2 separate regions of the Homo sapiens genome follow, and region 1 is linked to region 2. The links are contacts of gene promoters, found by promoter capture Hi-C in human tissues and cell types (Jung and others, 2019). All regions are on one chromosome and are shown on one strand. Each heading gives the region's core, a stretch centred on a gene start or on the middle of the fragment in contact. The rest is flanking DNA. Distances are from core to core; before and after follow the strand shown.

Region 1 (6,005 bases), core at 2,978-5,477, 1.9 Mb after region 2:
GACAGAGTCTCACTTTGTCGCCCAGGCTGGAGTGCAGTGGCACGAGTGGCGCGATCTTGGCTCACTGCAACCTCCACCTCCCAGGTTCAAGCAATTCTCCTGCCTCAGCCTCCCAAGTAGCTGGGATTACAGGTGCCCACCACCAAGCCCGGCTAATTTTTGTATTTTTTAGTAGAGACGGGGTTTCACCATGTTGGGCAAGCTGGTTTCGAACTGCCGACCTCAGGCAATCTGCCCGTCTCGGCCTCCCAAAGTGCTGGGATTACAAGTGTGAGCCACCGCGCCTGGCAGTGAAATCCCATTTCTACTAAAAATACAAAAATTGACTGGGCCTGGCAGCTCACATCTGTAATCCCAGCACTTCGGGAGACCGAGGCAGGCAGATGGCTTGAGGTCAGGAGTTCAAGACCAGCCTGGCCAACATGGAGAAACCCCGTCTCTACTAAAGATACAAAATTAGCCAGGCATGGTGGTGCATGCCTGTAATCCTAGCTACCTGGGAGGCTGAGCGGGGAGAATTGCTTGAATCCGGGAGGCGGAGGTTGTGGTGAGCCGAGATCGCACCATTGTACTGCAGCCTGGGCAACAAGAGCAAAATTCCATCTCAAAGAAAAAAAAACAGAAAAAATAGCTGAACATGGTGTGCACGCCTGTCATCCTGACATCTCAGCTACTATGGAGGCTGAGGCACAAGAATCACTTGAACCCAGGAGGTTGCAGTGAGTTGAGATCATGCCACTGCACTCCAGCCTGGGCGATAGAGTGATACTCTGTCTCAAAAAAAAAAAAAAAAAGACCTTTGCCCTTCAAATCCAGCCACCATGTTACCAGGAAGCACAGGCCACATGGAGAGATCATGCATGTGTATGTTCTGGCTGACAGCCCCAGCTAGGCCCCCAGCTGACATCACCCACCAGAAGTATGAGTAAACAACTTTGCCTATGATTCCACTCCCCAGTCTTTGAGTCTTCTTGCTGAGGCCCCCTCAGCTGTGGAGCTGAGATAAACCTTCCCATTGTGGCTTGTCTGGATTCCTGTTCCAAAGAAACCATGAGAGACTTTGTATATTTTATATGCATTCATATTTTATTTACTTTTTCTTTTTTGAGACAGAGCTACTGTGTTGCCCAGGCTGGAGTGCAGTGGTGCAATCTCGGCTCGCTGCAACCTCCGCCTCCCGGGTTCAAGTTATTCTCCCTGCCTCAGCCTCCCGAGTAGCTGGAATTACAGGCATGCACCACCATGCCTGGCTAATTTTTGTATTTTTTAGTAGAGACAGGGTTTTGCCATGTTGGTCAGGCCGGTCTGGAACTCCTGACCTCAGGCGATCCGCCCGCCTCCACCTCCCAAAGTGCTGGGATTACAGGTGTGAGCCACCACACCCGGCCCCTATCCTATTCTTATCACTTGAGTATATCACAAATAACCTTTCCTTGTCAATAGGTGCCTTAGTACAGCATTTTTTTTTCTTTTTTTGAAGACAGGTTCTGGCTCTGTCCCCCAGGCTGGAGTGCAGTAGCCCGATCTCTTGCTCACTGCAGCCTCCACATCCTGGGTCTTAAGTGATCCTCCCACCTCAGCCTCCCAAGTAGGTGGAGCTATAAGCACATCCAGCTAACTTGTATTTTTTGTAGAGACGGGGTTTCACCATGTTGCTCAGGCTGGTCTTGAACTCCTAGGCTCAAGTGATCCACCTGCCTCAGCCTCCCAAAGTGCTGGGATTACAGGCGTGAGCCACCACACCTGGCCAAAACTTTTTCTTTTTTTTGTAGACATGGAATCTCACTATGTTGCCCAGGCTGGTCTCCAACTCCTGGGCTCAAGCAATCCTCTCACCTTGGCTTCCCAAAGTGCTGGGATTACAGGCTTGAGCCACCATGCCCTGCCACCCAGTATGATTTATTTCATTTTTTTTGGTAAAGTGAAAGCAAGTTTATTAGAGAAGTAAAGAAACAAAGGAGACCAGGAGCAGTGGCTCACGCCTGTAATCCCAGAACTTTGGGAGGCCGAGGTGGGCGGATCAAGGAGTCAAGAGATCCAGACCATCCTGGCCAACATGATGAAACCTTGTCTCTACTAAAAATACAAAAATTACCATCCTGGCTAACACGGTGAAACCCCGTCTCTACTAAAAATACAAAAAAAATTAGGCGTGGTGGCGGGCGCCTGTAGTCCCAGCTACTCGGGAAGCTGAGGCAGGAGAATGGCGTGAACCCGGGAGGCGGAGCTTGCAGTGAGCCTAGATCGCGCCACTGCACTCCAGCCTGGGCAACAGAGAGAGACTCCGTCAAAAAAAAAAAAAAAAAAAAAAAATTAGCTGGGCGCGGTGGTGCGCGCCTGTAGTCCCAGCTACTCGGGAGACTGAGGCAGGAGAATCACTTGAACCCAGGAAGCGGAGGTTGAAGTGAGCGGAGATAGCGGCTCTCTCACTGCACTCCAGCCTGGGCGACAGAGCGAGACTCCGTCTCAAAAAAAAAAAAAAAAAAGTAATTGCTACTCCATAGGCAGAGCAGTCCACCCGACAAGGTTTTTGTTGTTGTTGTTGTTTGAGACAGAGTCTCGCTCTGTCCCCCAGGCTGGAGTGCAGTGGCGCGATCTCTGCTCGCTGCAACCTCCGCCTGCCGAGTTCAAGCAATTCTCCTGCCTCAGCCTCCCGAGTAGCTGGGACTACAGGCGCCCACCATCACGCCCGGCAAATTTTGTAAATTTTTAGTAGAGACAGGGTTTCACCATGCTGGTCAGGCCAGTCTCGAATTCCTGACCTCGTGATCTGCCGGCTCCGGCCTCCCAACGTGCTGGGATTACAGGCGTGAGCCACGGTGCCCGGCCACGCGGCATGATTTTTAATGGCTTTCTACATTGTATGGTTTGTTATTGTTGTTTTGAGACAGGGTCTCCTTCTATCACCGATGCTGGACTGCAGTGGTGCGATCTTGGCACTCTGCAGCCTCGACCTCCTCGGCTCAAGCGATCCTATATCACCTCAGCCCCCTGAGTAGCTGGGATGCACAGGTGTGTGCCACCTCGCCCAGCTAATTTTTAATTTTTTTGTAGAAAGGAGGGGGGTCTCACTACATCAAATTCTTGGGCTCAAGCGATCCTCCCACCTCGGCTTCCCAAAGTGCAGGGATTACAGGCATGAGCCACAGCGACCAGCCAGCACAGGTGTCTTTATTTGTTTTATTTTTTATTTTATTTTATTTTATTTTGAGACAGAGTCTCGCTCTGTCGCCCAGGCTGGAGTGCAGTGGCGCCATCTCGACTCACTGCAAGCTCCGCCTCCCGGGTTCACGCCATTCTCCTGCCTCAGCCTCCCGAGTAGCTGGGACTACAGGCGCCCGCCACCACGTCCGGCTAATTTTTTTGTACTTTTAGTACAGACGGGGTTTCACCGTGTTAGCCAGGATGGTCTCGATCTCCTGACCTCGTGATCCACTCGCCTCGGCCTCCCAAAGTGCTGGGATTACAGGCTTGAGCCACCGCGCCCGGCCTGCACAGGTGTCTTGAATATGTATATACGCGACTCCAGTATGGTTGGAAATGATTTGATTTGTTGTCTATGGAATTGCACAACCTGGAGCCTTCCTAACATCAGCGGCTTCATACTGGCATTTCCATTGTGGTGCAGCAACAATCTGAGTGAGCCTCCGTCTCTAGCCACATCATTTGACAACCGGTCCCAGAAGGTAACTGGAAGTCATGATGACAACTCCTATACTGTGAAAAGAAACTGCAAGCAAGGCAGTTAAGATGCAATCTTGCACGGTGACCGTAAGTCGGAGAACTGCGCGGCGAACGAGGCCTCGGCAGGGGAAGCGAAAGCCTGGTGTGGTTGCGGCTCTGGGGCCACCCTGCGACCGCCTCGGGGTGTAGGCAGAATTTCCCGGCCCAGCTCCCCTCTGACCAGATAGCGGCCGAGAAACAATGGTTATCTGCTCCACTGACGCCAGGATGTCTTCTCCGTGCCCGATCCCGGAGTACAAACAGTGAAATGAGAAGCCGGTGAGAAACGCGCTGGTTAAAAACATCTCGACGGGAGACGCTGGTAGGCGAATAGTGGCTCCAGACGCGGTCGGCGCCTGCCGTACCCTGGTCAGACTCTGGGTCAGAGCGCTAAGTTTCAAGGAGGCGGCGCTAAACAGGCCCTCTAGCCGGGAGCCTGTCGCGACCCGAGCGACCGTGGGTCGACCCCGATCCGGAAGTGACGCAACGGCGCCAAGCACTTCCGGAGCTGTGGGGACGACTCTTCTGGAGGAAGCAGCGCGGGCTTGACCGGCGTCGGCCCGCCGCCTCCGCTGCCGCTTCGCCCCAATCCGGTCCCTCTGGCCCGGCCTGACCCGGTCTGGCTTGTTCGGGCTCAGCGGCCGCGAGGCCGCAGCTCCCGGTAAGTGCGCGGCGCACGTCACGGCCTTGTTTACCTTGGCTGGCCGCTGGGGGGGCCTCTCCGCGCGCCTCCCTGGCCGGGCCGGGACTCCGCCTTCGCCGTCGCCCGGGAGGCCCGGGCGCTCCCCGTCGCCGGCACGTTGTCCGAGCATTACCCGCCGTCAGCGGCCGGGCGCCCAGCGTGTGTCTGCCTTTTTTCCTCCCGCCGCCTTCTCAGCTCTCGGAAAGGTCAGAGGCCACCGCCTCTGACCAACCGGCGCCGGCACATCTAGGCCCTCTCTCCCTGTCTGGCGCGGCGGGGAAACGCGCCGCCTCGGGGCTCACCACTCGAGTCATCTTTGGGAGCTCTCGCAGCGCTGCCCGCGCGGTTTAACGCCCGCCTGTGGAGGGTATCCCCAGCTCGCGGGCTCCGCGTCCGCGCGAATATCCCGGAGCCCGCGGCGCCCCTAGGGATGTGCGGCCCCGGAGCTGTGCCGCCGCCTCGCCAGAAGCTGGTTGGGCAGCCGCGTTCTTGGATGACTTCTCCTTAGTACTGTTCATTGCCTGGTCCCATAGAACTTTCTGTCATAGCGACATGTTCTTTACCTTTGCTGTTCAGCATGGTAGCTACTAGCCACACGTGGCCGTTAAGCATTTGACCTGTAGGCTAGTGCACCTGAGAAACTAAATTTTAAATTTTACTTACTTTTTAAGTGTAATTAAATTTAAATAACCACATGTGGCTAGTGGTCACCGTATTAGAAAAGACAGATACAAAGTGTAGGATTTTGAAACGAAATTGCTGATTTCTAGTTTTGTGCCAAGTCGTTTTTCTTCGGAGGTGTAGTTAGTAAATGACCTGAATTCAGCGCTAGTGATCATATCTGGAGTAAACGTCTTCAGACTCACTAAAACTTACGTGTTCTGTGCGTGGTGGGCAAGCCCAGGATGGTTGGTTGTTAGGTCCCCTGAACATGTGACTTTGGCTCTGGAGGAAATTTTTTTTTTTTTTTTTTTTGGTGGGCGGGACAAAGTTGCTGTCACCAGGCTGGAGTGCAGTGGCGGCGATCACAGCTAACTGCAGCCCCGACTTTCTGGGCTCAAGTGATCCTCCTTTCTTAGCCTCCTAAGTAGCTGGGACCACAGGCACGTACCACCACACCTGGCTAATTTGTAAAATTTTTTGTGGATACGTGATCTTAATAGGTTGCCTAAGCTGGTCTTGAACTGCTGGGCTCAAGCTATCCTCCCGGTTTGACCTCCTAAAGTGCTGGGATTACAGGCGTGAGCCACTGTGCATGACCTTTAAAAAAATTTTTTTTGAAAAAGTGCCCGGCCCACTTTTTCAAGTAGAATTCGGATATTTAACTTTGAGATGATTAAAAATTAAATTTTCATTTAAATGTGCACCTAGAACATTTAGTATGAAATGGAGTTCTCTCTCTTTTTTTTTTGGAGGAGCCTGGAGTTTTCCCCACCTAAATATTTGGTTGGTGAGAAGCCTGTGAGCAATTTCTTTTTTTTTTTTTTTTTTTGACACGGAGTCTCACTGTGTTGCCCAGGCTGGAGTGCAGTGGTGCAGTCTCGGTTCACTGCAGCCTCCATCTCCCAGATCAAGCAGTTCTGCCTTAGCCTCCCGAGTA
Region 2 (5,903 bases), core at 27-2,526:
TGCCCGGCCCTCGTTCCCAATTTCTAAGGCCCACCCTTAGTTAGAAATAAATCTTTTCTTTTTTTTTTTTTTTTTTTTTTGAGACGGAGTCTCGCTCTGTCGCCCAGGCTGGAGTGCAGTGGCAGGATCTCGGCTCACTGCAAGCTCCGCCTCCTGGGTTGACGCCATTCTCCTGCCTCAGCTTCCCAAGTAGCTGGGACCACAGGCACCCGCCACCACGCCCGGCTAATTTTTTTGTATTTTTAGTAGAGACAGAGTTTCACCGTGTTAGCCAGGATGGTCTCGATCTCCTAACCTCGTGATCCGCCCACCTCGGCCTCCCAAAGTACTGGGCGCGTGAGCCACCGCGCCCGGCTAAATCTTTTATTTTCGATTTTTTTTTTTTTTTTTTTTTTGAGACGGAGTCTCGCTCTGTTGCCCAGGCTGGAGTACAGTGGCGAGATCTCGGCTCACTACAACCTCTGCCTCCCAGGCTCAAGCGGTTCTCCTGCCATAGCCTCCCGAGAAGCTGGGATTACAGGCGCGCACCACCACGCCCGGCTAATTTTTGTATTTTTAGTAGAGGCGGGGTTTCACCATGTTACCCAGCCTGGTCTCGAACTACTAACCTCAAGTGATCCGCCTGCCTCGGCCTCCCAAAGCACTGGGATTACAGGCGTGAGCCACCGTGCCCGGCCTCTTTTTGATTTTTGCACGAAACGACTCCGGCTGTATACCCACTGCTGTCACTTGCTGCCCTGTCCAAGGAGTGCTGCCGGACTGGGGAGTCTGTCTGACTCAGAATCGAAGGCGGGGGTTAAAGACCAGCTAGGCCATAGAGGAACGGAACAAATCACGCCTAACCCAACAAGCATCTGAACCTACAGGCAGCCCTAGATACCTACACGAGCAACACCCGGGAAGCAGGAGTCAGATGGACTGCGGGTCGCTGACCACTGCCTTGCCCACCCCCGCGCATGCGCGACGACCGCACCAGCGCCAGAGGAGTCCCACGCCAAGCAGCCCCAGACATCGTGGGAGGGCGCCGTCTTCTCGCGCATGCGTTAGCGCCCGCGCATGCGCGCCCTCGGCAGCTGTCTTTCCTTATTAGCCCTTTGCTCTCCTCAAGCGCGACCCGGACCCCGAACGCTGGACGCCTCAACTGCGACCCTCACTCCACACTTCTCACCTTGCGCCCGGTTTTCTCCCGTAGGGCCTTCAGCCGTTCCTTTCGCCGCAACGCCTCTTCCTCTAGCCGGCCCACACCAGCCGTAGTTGCCTCCATCTTGCCCGCGTACGCCCCTCCTTTTCTCCCGTCTTGCATCGCGCAGGCCTAAGGAGAGTGGATAAATGTCTCGCGGCCAATCCAAGGACGAGAATGAGAGACTGGGAGGTCCTGAAAGCCAATCAATGCGGGGTTATTATGGGCGAGCCCTCCCCGCCTTGCCCCGCCCCGCCCCGCCCCGCCCTTATTCTTCCGGACAACTTGCCTAGTGGGTGGGGAGCCAGCAAAAAAAAAAAAGAAAAAAAAAAAAGCTAAGGCTCGATTTATCCAACGCTGATCAGTGAAAGAGCAGCAAGTGGAATTCAGACCTGAGAGAAGGAGAAAAGAGTGCGTCGATCGCTCCGGTTTTGCCCAAGTACTAACCACACTAATCACTCCATGCTGGCCTCTTGGAATGCCCTGACTCATCCTTGTCCACTTGACCTGACAAGGCTCGAATGCCTTCAAGAAACCTTCCCTGGGCCGGGCGCGGTGGCTCACGCCTGTAATCCCAGCACTTTGGGAGGCCGAGGAGGGCGGACCACGAGGTCAGGAGATGGAGACCATCCTGGCCAACATGGTGAAACTCCATCTCTACTAAAAATACAAAAATTAACTGGGCGTGGTGGCGCGTGCCTGTAATCCCAGCTACTCGGGAGGCTGAGGCAGGAGAATCGCTTGAACCAGAGAGGCGGAGGTTGCAGTGAGCCGAGATCGTGCCACTGCACTCCAGCCTGGCAGCAGAGCAAGACTCCGTCTCAAAAAAAAAAAAAAAAAAAAAAAAGCCTTCCCTGATCCTCCACTTCGATCCCACCCTAATACAAGGTATGACTTACACCTCTGCAGCTGTCAGTGGCTCCCCGGACTCACCTGACAAGCGCCCCTAAGCCCCTCTGTGACCACTCTCAGCTCAGACAAAGCCTGCACAGTGAGGGGGACCTGACTGTATGGCTGTTTCCCTCTGGACTCAAAGATGATCCCCTCTCATTCCCATCCCCTCCTGGAGCAGCAAAGTCCTCAGGGTCAAGTTACCTTTCCCGGGGAAGAGCAAACCCCAACCTGGGTCCAGTGGGCCTCAAGTACTGCCCCCAATCCCCAGCTTAGAAAGACTTGGGGTGGCCTCGACTGCAAGTCGCCACAAGATTCATGGCTACCCAGCAGAAGCTGCCAGAGTCTTCTTTCCTGCATGAACTAGAGTGTCCTGATAACCGCGAGACCACTTAGGCTGAAGTCAAGATATTCTTTCAGTATGTGGGGGTCCCCAAAGCCACACCCCCTCTCACTTGGGAATAGGAGACCATGCCGCCCCCTCTCCACCTCCACTGCCAGGGGACAACTAGCCTCTTAGGCTGTTCCCTCCCTGAGTCTTCCCTTCCCAAGCTGGCTACAGGTGGACATCCACTCTTCCCCTTCCAACTCCCTTCAGAGGCCCATGGGCCACAGACTGCAGATCTAGCCCTCCCTTCACTAACCCTCTTGTCCTCACTAACCTGGGTCTGTCTAAGCCTTCTTCCCTGTAGTGGATGGGTTGCTCTGCCAAGGCCTGGCATGCAGTTTGGAGGTGCTCAGGAAACCTCAGCTCAGAGCTATGATGGATGAAGCAGGACAAAAGGCCAGAGGTGAACCAAGAAGCTGGGAGAACAAAACAGGACAGGGTCTCTGTTGTCTTGGCCAACCAAGGTCTAGGAGTCTCCAGACTGGTCAACTCCTGGAACGAGTAGCACCCCTCTGGGCCCAGAAAACTTCTCCCCAGCCCCAACAAAGAGCCTGATCCCTGCCCAACACCAGGGGTTGGGTCCCTGCCACCATCACCCCGTGCCCCTTTCCCCGTGTCCAGACTGTGAGGTAAGGGGATGGGGAAGGGGGCACGGGGTGATGGTGGCAGGGACCCAAAAAAGAGTCAGTCAAGCCTGGGTCCCTGCCCCTGCTGCCCAAGTGGTCCTCATTTGGTCAACTTGGGCCTCAGTTTCTCCATCTGTAAAACAGAGCCGGCCGGGTGCGGTGGCTCATGCCTATAATCCCAGCACTTTGGGAGGTCGAGGCGGGTGGATCATGAAGTCAGGAAATCCAGACCATCCTGGCTAACACGGTGGAACCCCGTCTCTACTAAAAATACAAAAAATTAGCTGGGCCTGGTGACACGCGCCTGTAGTCCCAGCTACTCAGGAGGCTGAGGCAGGAGAATCACTTGAACCCAGGAGGCGGAGATTGCAGTGAGCCGAGATCGAGTCACTGCACTCCAGCCTGGGCGACAGAGTGAGACTCTGTCTCAAAAACAAACAAAAAACAGAGCCATGAGGCACCCACCTGTTGAGGTTAAAGAAACAACATATGTGAAGCAAGTTCTGGGCCCTGGAGTTGGGGAATGGGGGGAGCCCCTCCACTGGAGCGTTTGGGAAGGCTTCCTGGAGGAGGGAGGGGGACCCGTGGCAACGGTCTAAGCCTCTCTGGGATCTGGGAGGGCACCGCGGCCCCGAAGGTATTTCAGGCTAGTCCTGCTACTCTCTAACTTCCCGCCATCACACTCCACAAACAGCTAGAGCTCAAAAGTTGCGTTTCGGTCTTCCCATAAAGCGACAGAGTAGCACCTGGCATTTGATAAGCGCTACAAGGGGTCGTCATGGTGGTGGTGGAGATTATTGTTGAAGGACCCTCGCCACCTCCACGCGGCCCGCCGCCCCTTCCCTGAATGGCGGCAAATGCAGTCAGGCGAGCAGCGTCCTGGGCGGATTCAGACCCTGGGGAAGTCTGGAATTCCTCACCCCGACCCTCGTCCCGGAGGCTCAGGCTGGCCCTTCCAATGGCACTGGTGGGGCAGGGCAGCGGGGCACCCTCCCGGGCCGCCCGGCCCATAGGCCCCTCCTCCTGCCAGGCTCTCCGCCCTTTACATGGTCCCAGGAGAGGCGGGGCGGCGGTGACTGCAGCGAAGTGCAGGAAGCTGGGCGGCGGCCGGCAGTGAGGAGGAGGAGCGAGCAGACTTGGGTGGCTCTGCGCCGCGGAGGCCACAGCCGCAGACTTCCCCAGTAGTACCGCGCCGCTCCGCCCCGGAGTGACGCCCTCCGCCCATGGGCCTGGCCGAGGGCAACCGGCGGGCGGCGCGGAGGAGGCGGCGACAGGTGGCGCGCAGCAGGGCCGGAGCCGGGCCGGGCCATGGCCGCCTCGGAGCGGCTGTACGAGTTGTGGCTGCTCTACTACGCGCAGGTGAGCCCGCCCCGCCCCGCGCCCGCACCCGCACCCGCGGTGCCCCCAGCTTCGCGCGCCCCGCGCCTGCTGCACCTGGCGCCCCGCGCCGCTGGGGCCGCGTAGCCGCGCGCGCGGGCGCGCGCGCGCAGGGCATGCTCCGGCTCCGCACACACGTGTGTGCCCCCAGCCCGCCGGGTGCCTCTGGCACTTATGCCTTGGGGACAGAGCTCGCGGTCGTGCACTTCATAGCAACCCACCCCCGCGAGCAGGACCGTGCAGCCTGAGTCTTTCTTGCTAGAGGAGAGTGGCCTGGGCCGAGGCGGCCGGACACTTGGCCTTTTTACAAATGGGGAAACTGAGACCTGGAGAGACCTGGAGACTGGCCAGGAGGCTAGGGGGAGGGGGACTCAATTTGTCTATGAGCTGCCTCTCCCTTGGGCGCGGCCTGATTGGGTGGTCGTGGCCAACGGGTCTGGGGGTGTGGGCCAAGGTAGGGAGGTGTGTGGAAGGGGAATGCTCCCACTTCAGGTCCTTCTTGAGTTGCATCCCCCCACACCCCAGCGAACAGGCTGTGATAAGCTCTTCCCTGACTTGAAATGACCCACCCCACCCCACCCCCATTCTGAGGGGTAGACCCAGGACCTCTCTAGGAGCAGAAGAAAAGGTTTTCCTCTGGATGCCCAGGGTGAGGGTGGGTCCTTGAGGCCCTGAGGGATGTCTGAAAAGGTTGGAGGGAGGCCCGTTCCTCCTGAGCTCCCCACCCATCTCAGAAAATACTTCAGGTGGAGTCAGAAGGTGAGGGGAGTGACTCAGACGTGGGTGTCCCATCAGCTGAGAACCTGGTATCACTCACACCGTCTCACACACATAGTCCCCCATTTTCCTTCTGTACCCACAGCAGGGAGGGATCCCAGGGTAACACTCCCCTCCCCTTCACCCAGCACCTCCCTCCCTGCACCTGCCTGGCATCATGCTCCTGGCTCAGGTGTGCCCTGGGCACAATGGACCATTGTGTGCCCTGAACAGTTTGTCAGTGGGGGGAATTCATGCTCAGACACGCTGGCCCTCCATAAGGAGGCTGGCCCACTGTCTTCCACGGACCTGGAGTCCAGGCCAGAAGGACCACAGCCTCTTCAGTCCGCTCAGGTTGTGAGAGGTCCAGGCCCCAGCAGGAGGCCAGGCATGGAGTAGAGTCCCTCTTTGGTATAACTCAGATCGAACTCGACTTCTGAGCCTCTGCTTCCTGCCTGTAAAACTGACACAGCCCTGGCCGGGCACGGTGGCTCACACCTGTAATCCCAGCACTTTGGGAGGCCGAGGCGGGCAGATCACAAGGTCAGGAGATCGAGACCATCCTGGCCAACATGGTGAAACCCCATCTCTACTAAAATACAAAAATTAGCCGGGCGTGGTGGGGTGTGCCTGTAATCCCAGCTACTCGGGAGGCTGAGGCAGGAGAATCGCTTGAACCAGGGAG

What was found. Contacts are between HindIII fragments. The study calls those that stand out against the background at their distance.
Region 1: a contact is called between the fragment with the promoter of ARIH2 here and the fragment with the promoter of CCDC12 in region 2, in 1 of the 25 tissues and cell types used here (small bowel).

What each region holds. Positions count from the first base shown.
Region 1 is chr3:48,914,615-48,920,619 of GRCh38, forward strand. It overlaps ARIH2 (ariadne RBR E3 ubiquitin protein ligase 2), which reads left to right and starts at 4,228. Exons shown (of 16, transcript NM_006321.4): 1 at 4,228-4,384. It overlaps ARIH2OS (ARIH2 opposite strand lncRNA), which reads right to left and starts at 4,771. Exons shown (of 1, transcript NR_161301.1): 1 at 3,174-4,771. RefSeq lists enhancers at 3,105-3,855, 3,661-4,130, 3,856-4,607, 4,608-5,358 and silencers at 4,301-4,400, 4,471-4,550. The HindIII fragment of the contact is 21,005 bases long and covers 1-6,005 here.
Region 2 is chr3:46,975,469-46,981,371 of GRCh38, forward strand. CCDC12 (coiled-coil domain containing 12) reads right to left here and starts at 1,277. Exons shown (of 7, transcript NM_001277074.2): 1 at 1,169-1,277. The coding sequence starts at 1,264. It overlaps NBEAL2 (neurobeachin like 2), which reads left to right and starts at 4,198. Exons shown (of 54, transcript NM_015175.3): 1 at 4,198-4,444. The coding sequence starts at 4,394. RefSeq lists enhancers at 1-463, 464-1,165, 990-1,299, 1,869-2,569, 4,472-5,252 and 1 more and silencers at 1,390-1,529, 3,925-4,114, 4,215-4,554. The HindIII fragment of the contact is 31,501 bases long and covers 1-5,903 here.